Regions from separate parts of the Homo sapiens genome. Here region 1 is linked to region 2. Evidence: promoter capture Hi-C in human tissues and cell types (Jung and others, 2019). All regions are on one chromosome and are shown on one strand. The core of a region is centred on a gene start or on the middle of the fragment in contact, and the rest is flanking DNA. Distances in the headings are between cores, read along the strand shown.

Evidence for each region. The method cuts DNA at HindIII sites, captures the fragments that hold promoters and counts their contacts. A contact is called where the count stands out against the background at its distance.
Region 1: a contact is called between the fragment with the promoter of KANSL2 here and a fragment that was not itself captured in region 2, in 1 of the 25 tissues and cell types used here (thymus).

What each region holds. Positions count from the first base shown.
Region 1 is chr12:48,680,500-48,685,532 of GRCh38, forward strand. KANSL2 (KAT8 regulatory NSL complex subunit 2) reads right to left here and starts at 1,739. Exons shown (of 10, transcript NM_017822.4): 1 at 1,688-1,739; 2 at 883-1,142. The coding sequence starts at 1,133. RefSeq lists an enhancer at 1,437-1,706 and silencers at 1,787-1,996, 2,037-2,086. The HindIII fragment of the contact is 9,488 bases long and covers 1-5,033 here.
Region 2 is chr12:48,837,149-48,842,285 of GRCh38, forward strand. It overlaps DDX23 (DEAD-box helicase 23), which reads right to left. Exons shown (of 17, transcript NM_004818.3): 4 at 2,865-2,958; 5 at 2,696-2,761; 6 at 794-932; 7 at 376-509; 8 at 133-245. Among named protein-coding and RNA genes, the nearest start is that of DDX23, 12 kb to the right of the region's middle. The HindIII fragment of the contact is 3,147 bases long and covers 916-4,062 here.

The sequences.
Region 1 (5,033 bases), core at 489-2,988, 160 kb before region 2:
AATTTTAAAACTATAAGATACGTAAAAAATTATCTAGTCAGGTTATGTTTTTGCATGGATACCTTTGCATACATGATGAAAACTATGAAGCCTCTTACAGAAGAATACACACATATATAACTTTGCATGTTATTTAACAAAATTCATGGACAGCCAAATAGAGCCACACACCCCTCCATTAAGAAGAATTTTAGGGGCCAGGTGCGGTGGCTCACTCCTGTAATCCCAACACTCTGGGAGGCCGAGGCGGATGGATCACCTGAGGTCAGCAGTTCAAAACAAGCCTGGCCAACATGGTGAAACCCCGTCTCTACTAAAAAGTACAAAAATTAGCCGGGCATAGTGGCGCACGCCTTAAGTCCCAACTACTTAGGAGGCAGGAGAATCGCTTGAACCTGGAAGGAGGAGGTTGCAGTGAGCCGAGATCTCCACTGCACTCCAGCCTGGGGAATAAAGCAAGAATCTGTGCGCCGCCCCCCCGCCAAAAAATTAACTTTAGGGCCGGGCGCGGTCGCTCACGCCTGTAATCCCAGCACTCTGGGAGGCCGAGATGGGAGGATACCTTGAGGCCAGGAGTTTGAGACCGGCCTGGTCAAAATAGCAAGACCCCATCTCTCTTAAAAAAAAAAAAAAAAAAAAAAAGACTAATTTAGAATATGCCTTTATTTTACAGATAAGGGAAAAGAACCAAAGAGGTGAACTAAGTAATCCAACTCAAGGGTCTTTCCAGTCTTCACCGTTTTTTCAGTTTTCCAAGGATACAACCATAACCCCAAATTTACAAGGACAAAATCTCAAACGCGGCAGCTATGCTGAAGCCCGCATCATATCACATACCCCCTCGCTTTAAGAAAAACGACATATATATCTATACATATATACCCATCTTTCTTCTCTGGCTTTGGGGCAGCATTGGGACATCTTTTTCCATTCTTCGTCGATATATAACTACACTGCTTGAAGGGTGCATTCTTGTCTTCAAGGATATGCTTAATGCAAAACTCCTGCCCCTCCAGACGAGGGTGAGAGCATGGACGATGAGTGAATGCACAAGACAGAGGTTCCTGAGACCTGGGCACTGGAGTGATCCTCCCCCGATTGGTTGGCAAGACGTGAATCCGAATCCTGTTCATAACCAAAACCTGCGGGGTCAAACGAAAGACCAAAAAGCCCTTACCCTTCCCGAAAATTCCTGCTCCACACAGATCGCGCGGACAGTTTCCAAAGGACATGCAGAAGTCGTCCCCGTAAGGTACGCTCCGTAAGTCCCCGCCGCCCTCCCCAAGTCTCCACAGGCATCTGTGGCTTTGCCTCCCTTTAGCGTGTCCCTCCATGCCCGGCCCCACCCCGAACCACACCACGCTGAATGTATCTTCAGGACTCGCACAGCTGCAGCACGAAGGGAAGCGACAACACCAGCCCCACGCGGCGGCCACGCCGCCTCCCCGCACGCCGCCTTTGTCCCGGCCTGCCTCAGAGCGCACGACTGGGCCTGGCCTCGGAAGCCTATGCGAGCGCCATTTTGTCCTACGGCTCCAGTCACCGGAGATCCTGGCTCCTGGAAGCCTGCAGGAAGGAGACTGACTCTGACACTGCTTTGAGGCGGAGTAGCAGCTCTGAGCTGACAAAAAGAGCGAAATAGCAGCCCAACCGCAAGAGCTTAGAGGAAAGAGCACCGCCATCTTACCTCAGGAGCTGCGCTGCGCCGCACTCTGCCGCGCCGCTCGCCCTTCTCTAGTGGCGCCAGCGGCTCTCAGATCGGCCTCGCCCCTTTCCGGACTCCTGGCTACTCATTGGCTACCGCTCGTATGACAGGATGTCGCCATTGGCCGAGACCAACTACCTATCGTGTCTGGGAGGGCGGAGCGCTGAGAAAATGCGAGGTTGGGGTGGCTAAGACAGACTGTCTGTCAGCAACTCCGCCCGGAGGAGAGTGAGCCGGGGAAGGGGGCGGAGAGCGGGCTGCGGGGCGGGTTGCCAGCTAATATTTTTCCACCTTGCAGCGTGGCTCGTTTTCCGGCTACTTTTGGACCCTCAGTCTGTGGTCCTAGGCTGCTGTTCCCTCACCACTGTACACAGCTAGTATAAAATCAGACAGACAGGCCGGGCGCGGTGGCTCACGCCTGTAATCCCAACACTTTGGGAGGCTGAGGCTGGCAGATCACCTGAGGTCGGGAGCTCGAGTCCAGCCTGAGCAACATGGAGAAACGCCGTCTCTACTAAAAATACAAAATTAGCCGGGCGTGGTGGTGCACGCCTGTAATTCCAGCTACTCGGGAGGCTGAGACAGGAGAATCTCTTGAACCTGGGAGGCGGAGATTGCGGTGAGCCGATATCGCGCCATTGCACTCCAGCCTGGGCAACAAGAGCGAAACTCCGTCTCAAAAAAATATATAAATAAAAAATAAATCAGACAGAGGCTGGAGGATCACTGTTTACACATAAAAAGTCTTTAGCTTTCTTTTGTGAACAGTTCAATACATGTACTGAACATTTGGTATAGAGAACACTGAGAAACATTTTTTGGGTGTTTACTGATTCTGGGAATTACATGTATAAAGTCATTGAATTTTTCAAAGCAACCCTAAGAGGTACAGGTTAGTATTATGTCCATTTTACAGATAAGAGGACTGAGGAACAGAATGGGACCATAGCTATTAAATGGGAAAGGAAGACGAATTTGAACCCAGCCCGCATTCTTTATCCCTTATTGCCTCTTATATAGTAAAGAGCATTGGACTGAGAATAAGGAAATATTTGTTCTAGTTTAGGGCTGCTTCTCATAACTGTGTGCCCTGTCTTTAAAATTCCATGCTAAATAATGCAGGTATCATAAAAATGACAGACACAATACCAATCATACCATCCTTTAAGGATTTTTAGTTTAAAAGCATCTTTCTGTCATCTCCACCACTTGTAGAAATGATTCCTAGCTTTCTTCCCATAACCCTTCTAGACATTTTTTGCTTTCCAGCATCTCTTATCTCCTCACTGTCAGTTTAAGAAAGATGTTTTATCCATGCCTAACGAGCAAGTGAGCATGAGTCCCAGTGGAAGTGAACATAAAGATTCCACAGCCCTCAAGAAAAACACTAAGGCTGGGCGTCATGGTTCACCACTGTAATCCCAGCACTTTGAAAAGCTGAGGTGGGAAGATCACCTGAGCTCAGGAGTTCGATCCCAGCCTGGGCAATATGGAGACACCTCATCTCAAATAAATAAATAAATAAATAAATAAATAAATAAATAAATACACTATAGGACCGATAAATTATTAAAAAAAAAAAAAAACCTTGGGGGTTGTGCTGTTTCCAGAGACTAGAGCAGCCCTAGAAGAAGGCCTGAAATTCATTCATTCAACGAATATTTATTGAGCACCTAAGTGCCAGGAGAGAACAAGGAAGATAACCCTGCTCTCTTGGAGTGAACATTCTAGGATAGCTTTGGATTATGGATGCAATACAAACATAATATTAATAACAATGATTTATATACATAAGCAAACAGACCAACCCTCAGGAGTACGAAAAAAGATGTTTTGTTATAAACACCCTATAATTAAAAAACAGCCAGAGGCAGTCATGTCACAGAAAATTTGGGAATCCGAATCTGCAACCAAATGTAGTAATATCAAAAAGCAACATTAAAACTACTGTAGTGAACAATATGAAGAGACACAGGAATAGATGGGGAAGAAACAAAAGACTTTCTTTCAATGAATTTACTGAAGGTCTTAGTTGAAAAAAGAATCCTTCTTGTAAGTCCAAGACAGACAAAACATTACTATTTAGAACCACTTCTTTTTTTTTTTTTTTTTTTTAGCGGGAGTCTTGCTCTGTCGCCCCGGCTGGCTGGAGTGCAGTGGCGCGCGATCTCGGCTCACTGCAACCTCCGCCTCCTGGGTTCAAGGGATTCTTCTTCCTCAGCCTACCCCCCAAGTAACTGGGACAACAGGTGTGCGCCACCATGCTCGGCTAATTTTTTTATATTCTTAATAGAGACAGGGTTTCACCATATTGACCAGGCTGGTCTCCAACTCCTGACCTCGTGATCTGCCCACCTCAGGCTCCCAAAGTGCTGGGATTACAGGCGTGAGCCACCATGCCCGGCCTAGAACCACTTCTAAGTGAAAGGAGGGAGCAGATATTAAGAGCTCAAGATGTCAGCAAATTCTTTGTTCTGTTTAACAAAGTAGATGGCTTTTTTTTTTTTTTTGAGATGGAGTCTTGCTCTGTTGCCCAGGCTGGAGGTAGATGGTTATTTTTAATTCACTGAACACTTTGTAGCTATTGAAGAGGTTAAAGTAGACCAGAAGCTATTTGTAAATAGGGATTAGGAAACTAGAGTTTGGGGGGCTAATCCTAGAGAAAAGTGAGAAAAAAGATGAAAACGGCTGGGCGCAGTGGCTCACGCCTATAACCACAGCACTTTGAGAGGCCGAGGCGGGTGGATCACCTGAGGCGAGGAGTTCAAGACCAGCTTGGCCAACATGGTAAAACCCCATCTCTACTAAAAGTACAAAAACTAGCCAGGTGTGGTGGCATGTGCCTTAATCCCAGCTACTTGGGAGGCTGAGCAGGAGAATCATTTGAACCCAGGAGGCAGAGGGTGCAGTGAGCCAAGATTGTGCCACTGTACTCCAGCCTGGGTGACAGAGCAAGACTGTCTCCAAAAAAAAAAAAAAAAAGTTATCAAAGACCTTCACCTTGCTAATTCTAATGAAGTTTTCAGGCATCATCTTATTAGACCACTTTGCAATGTCTAACACACTTGGCCACTCCTCCTCCTTAGAACTCTATACTCTTTCTAGATCTCCATACTCTTCCTAGTTTCCCATCTACATCAGTCACCCACTCTCTGTCTCGTTTCTCTTTTCCCCAATTCTAAACACTGAACATTTCTATTTTCTACTACTACTTCCTTAGTTATCTCACTCTGTTTCATCCCATTCATAAGCTGTTATCTCCCAAATGCATATATCCAGCCTGGATCCCTCCTTTGAACTTGACTCTCTAGTCATCTGTCCAGTAGGC
Region 2 (5,137 bases), core at 1,239-3,738:
CAGAGGGCTGGCTGACTACCAGTCTACCAATTTTCCATCCCAGCTTATCTTACTTCCTCCACCTCCGTAGTCATCAGCTCTCTAGGACTGCCTAGTGGAAAAGACCTAGAACTCAGGCCTGAAGCCACTCACAGGGGGTTGTAGTCAATGGATGTGTCCTCAGATGCATCCCACTCAAAAACAAATTTCCGGTCATTGAGATGTCTCGTTCGGCGCCGCTTTTTGATGCCACCCAGGTAACGCTCCTACCCAGGGACAGAACACAAAGCACATGAGCTTTGAGGCCCAATTCTCACATGCAGAGATCACAATGGCCAAATAACTAAACCTCATTTTTGTGTGGGAGAGAAGTGAAGATGGAGCCAAGGCCTGCACCTTAATGGCATGCAGTTCCTTGCTCTTATCCTTCTCTTCCCGGATCTTCTGCCGCCCTTCCTCATCCTCATTTCCATTGGTCTCCCGTTCCATCCTCTCCCTGCGTTCCCGACGTTCCCGTTCCTGAGGATCTTCTGCAGACCAAAGAAAGCAAAGCTGCAGAAGAGCTCATGGAAGAAAAGAGGAGAGGGAATGGAGGGAATCCAGACGAGGAACCCCAAATGAAGAAAAAAAGGGGTAGACTTATGATATGGGGTAAATGGAGATCTAACAGAAAAATGTTTTCTCATAAACTCCCACCATCCTTCCCCTTTCCAAACTCCAGAGTGAACAGGTTTCTATCTCTCCTAAGAGACACTGTATCTCATCCCACTCTTTCCTCTTCCATCTAGGGGCTACACAGGGTAGAATAACAAACCCAACATCTTCCTGCCCAAGTCTTGGAACTGTTTCCTTTTCTTCCTCTCTTCTTCAAGCATCCTCTGCCGCTCTTCCACCTCCTGCTGCCGTCGCTTTAGAGCTTCAGCCTCTCGTTCTGCTTTAGAGAGGAACTTGGGCTACAAAAGAGATTGGAACTGTCAACAAAGGATCTGGGAGCAGGGTACAATCACATCACTGATGGGGAGATGGCAGGGAACCCAAAAGTATTTGCTCAGGCATTAAGCCTGTTGAGGAAAACACAAATAGGCCTTGGACTCGGTTATGGACTGAACTATGTCCCCTACAGAATTCATATGTTTTTTCAGGCTGGACGTGGTGGCACATGCCTGTAATCCCAGTGTTTTATGAGACCTAGATGGGAGGACCGCTTGAGGCCATGAGTTCAAGACCAGCCTGGGCAACATAGCAGACCTTGTTTCTACAAAAATAAAAAAACTCAGCCAGACATGATGGCATGTGCATATAGTCCCAGCTACTCAGGAGGCTGAGGCAGGAAAATCATATGAGCCCAGGAGTTTGAGGTTACAGTGAGCTGTGATTGCACCACTGTACTTTAGCCTGGGCAAACGAGCAAGACCTTACCTTTAAAAAAAAAAAAAAAATGTGGCCGAGTGCGGTGGCTTGTGCCTGTAATCCTAGCACTTTGGGAGGCCGAGATGGGCGGATCACGAGGTCAGGAGTTCAAGACAAGCCTGGCCAGCACAGTGAAACCCTATCTCTACTAAAAAAATACAAAAAATTAGCCAGGCATGGTGGCACGTGCCTGTAATCCCAGCTACTCAGGAGGCTGAGGCAGGAGAATTGCTTGAACCTGGGAGGCAGAGGTTGCAGTGAGCCGAGATCATGCCACTGCACTCCAGCCTGGGCAACGGGGCGAGACTCCATCTCAAACAAACAAACAAACAATGCATGTGTTATATATATTTTTTGAGACAGACTCTCGCTCTGTTGCCCAAGCTGCAGTACAGTGGTGTCATCATGGCTCACTGCAGCTTCAACCTCCTGGGCTCAAGCAATATCCTTGCCTCAGCCTCCTGAGTAGCTGGGACTACAGGCGCATGCTACCACAGATGGCTAATTTTTAAAATTTTATAGAGATGGGTTTTCACCATGTTGCCTAGGCTGGTCTAAAAATCCCTGGCTCAAGTGATCCTCCCATCTTGGCCTTCCAAAGTATTGGGATTACAGGTGTGAGCCACTGTACCCAGCTCAAAATTCCTATGTGGAAGCCCTAACTCCTAGTACCTCAGAATTTGACTATATGTGGAGACAGGACATGTAAAGAGGTGATTAAGTTAAAATGAGCCCATTAGGCTGGGCACAGTGGCTCACGCCTGTAATCCCAGCACTTTGTGAGGCCAAGGAGGGCAGATCACTTGAGCCCAGGGGTTCGAGACCAGCCTGGACAACGTGGTGAAATCTGGACTCTACAAAAAATACAAAAATTAGCTGGACGTTGTGGCACGCACCTGTAGTCCCAGATACTTGGGAGGCTGAGGTGGGAGGATTGCTTCAGCCTGGGAGGTGGAGGTTGAAGTGAGCCGATATCATGCCACTGTACTCCATCCTGGGCGACAGAGTGAGACTCTGTCTCAAAAAAAAAAAAAAAAAAAAAAAAAAGGGCCTTTTAGGGTGAGCCCTAATCCAACACAAGGGGTACATGTGTACAGAGGGAGGACCATGTGAAGAGCTGAGGAAGAAGACAGCCTTATAAGCCAAGGAGAGAGACCTCAGAAGAAATAACCCTGCTGACACTCCGCTCTCAGACTTCCAGCCTCCAGAACTGTGAGAAAATTAACTTCTGTCGTTGAAGTCACCCAGTCTGTGGTATTGTGTTATGGCAGCCTGAGCCGATGAATGAAGACCCTCAAGTACTTACCTTAGCCTCAGCTTCTTCCTCAGCCTTTTTCTTGGCCAGAAGCTCCTCCAGGGATAATGGCTGGGCCTGAAGATAAAACAGAACTTTAGTCTATAAAGGCTCTCTCCCTTTAAAGATCAACAAAGCAACGCACGAGTTGAAGATGAAAAATATCCTTCCTCTCCTTTACCTTAGGCTTCTTATCACCATGTTCATCCTCTTCATCCTTCTTAGAGTCTCTGTCCTTCCGAGATTTAAAGTCTTTTCCTCGACCAGGAGATAAGCTTTGAGGAAAAGGAACAAGGTCCACATCACTCTTACTTCAGTGCCTGGATGAGGTTCAAGTTGAGCCCCGAAAAGAGAATGGAAGTTTCCCCATGACTCAACAAGACTGGCCCATGGTCATCTATCATGTCTTGAAACTCTCTTAGCAGGCATGGTCATTCTGCCAGCTCTGAAACCTAATTATGGCCCTGTCTTGGCCCCTTTCTACCCAAATCTCCTTTTGAGACTAATCTCTTTTGGGAAGTGGGACTTTACTACTGATGTCAAAAATATTTCCCCTAGGCCAGGCGCGGTGTCTCATGCCTATAATCCCAGCACTTTGGGAGGCTAAGACAGGTGGGTTACCTGAGGTCAGGAGTTCAAGACCAGCCTGGCCAACATGGCAAAACCCTGTCTCTAGTAAAAACACAAAAATTAGCCAGGTGTGGTTGTTTAGAGAAAAATTTTTTTTTTTTTTTTTTTTGAGACACAGTCTCACTCTGTCGCCCAGGCTGGAGTGCAATGGTGTGATCTCAGCTCACTGCAACCTCCGCCTCCTGGGTTCAAGAAATTTTCCTGCCTCAGCCTCCTGAGTAGCTGGGACTACAGGCGAGTACTGCCACCACTGGCTAATTTTTATATTTTTAGTAGAGACGAGGTTTCATCATGTTGGCCAGGCTGGTCTCGAACTCTTGACCTCAGGTGATACATCCACCTCGGCCACCCAAAGTGCTAGGATTACAGGTGTGAGCCACAGCGCCTGGCCCTCCTTAACTCTTTAATATACAATGAATTTAGCCTACATGGCCACCACCACAAGCCAAGAAGATACTGCTATCTATATTCCCTCATCATTTTTCATTCCTATCAATCCCAACAATCCTTTCCCCATACCTGCTCTAAGCTTAATCTACAAGATAATTCAAACAACCCCACTGAGTTTCTGTTAGGAGCATTCTGTCCTCTGCCTTGAATTCTAACCTATACTTTCAGGGCCTGATAAGAACTCTGTATACAGGCCAGGCACAATGGCTCACGCCTGTAATCCCAGCACTTTGAGAGGCCGAGGTGGCCGGATCACCTAAGGTCAAGAGTTCGAGACCAGCCTGGCCAACATGGAGAAACCCTGTCTCTACTAAAAATACAAAAATTAGCCAGGCATGGTGGCGCATGCCTGTATTCCCAGCTACTTGGGAGGCTGAGGCAGGAAAATTGCCTGAACCCAAGAGGCAGAGGTTGCAGTGAGCCGAGATCGTGCCATTGCACTCCAGCCTGGGCAACAGAACAAAAACTCCATCTCAAAAAAACCCCCAAAGATTCAGAGAAGAATCCATAGATAGAAAAGCTTCAGGCTCCCTCTCCCCTCTCCCCTCTCCCCACGGTCTCCCTCTCCCTCTCTTTCCATGGTCTCCCTCTGATGCTGAGCCAAAGCTGGACCGTACTGCTGCCATCTCGGCTCACTGCAACCTCCCTGCCTGATTCTCGTGCCTCAGCCTGCCGAGTGCCTGCGATTGCAGGCGTGCGCCGCCACGCCTGACTGGTTTTCGTATTTTTTTGGTGGAGACGGGGTTTCGCTGTGTTGGCCGGGCTGGTCTCCAGCTCCTGACCGCGAGTGATCCGCCAGCCTCGGCCTCCCGAGGTGCCGGGATGGCACACGGAGTCGCGTTCACTCAGTGCTCAATGGTGCCCAGGCTGGAGTGCAGTGGCGTGATCTTGGCTCGCTACAACCTCCACCTCCCAGCTGCCTGCCTTGGCCCCCCAAAGTGCCGAGATTGCAGCCTCTGCCCGGCCGCCATCCCATCTAGGAAGTGAGGAGCGTCTCTGCCAGGCCGCCCATCGTCTGAGATGTGGGGAGCGCCTCTGCCCTGCCGCCCCGTCTGGGATGTGAGGAGCGTCTCTGCCCGGCCGCCCCGTCTGAGAAGTGAGGAGACCCTCTGCCTGACAACCGCCCCGTCTGAGAAGTGAGGAGCCCCTCCGCCCGGCAGCCACATCGTCTGAGAAGTGAGGAGCCCCTCCGCCTGGCAGCCACCCCGTCTGGGAAGTGAGGAGCGTCTCCGCCCGGCAGCCACCCCGTCCGGGAGGGAGGTGGGGGGGGTTAGCTCCCCACCCGGCCAGCCGCCCCGTCCAGGAGGGAGGTGGGGGGGTCATCCCCCCACCCGGCCAGCCGCCCATCCGGGAGGGAGGTGGGGGGGTCAGCCC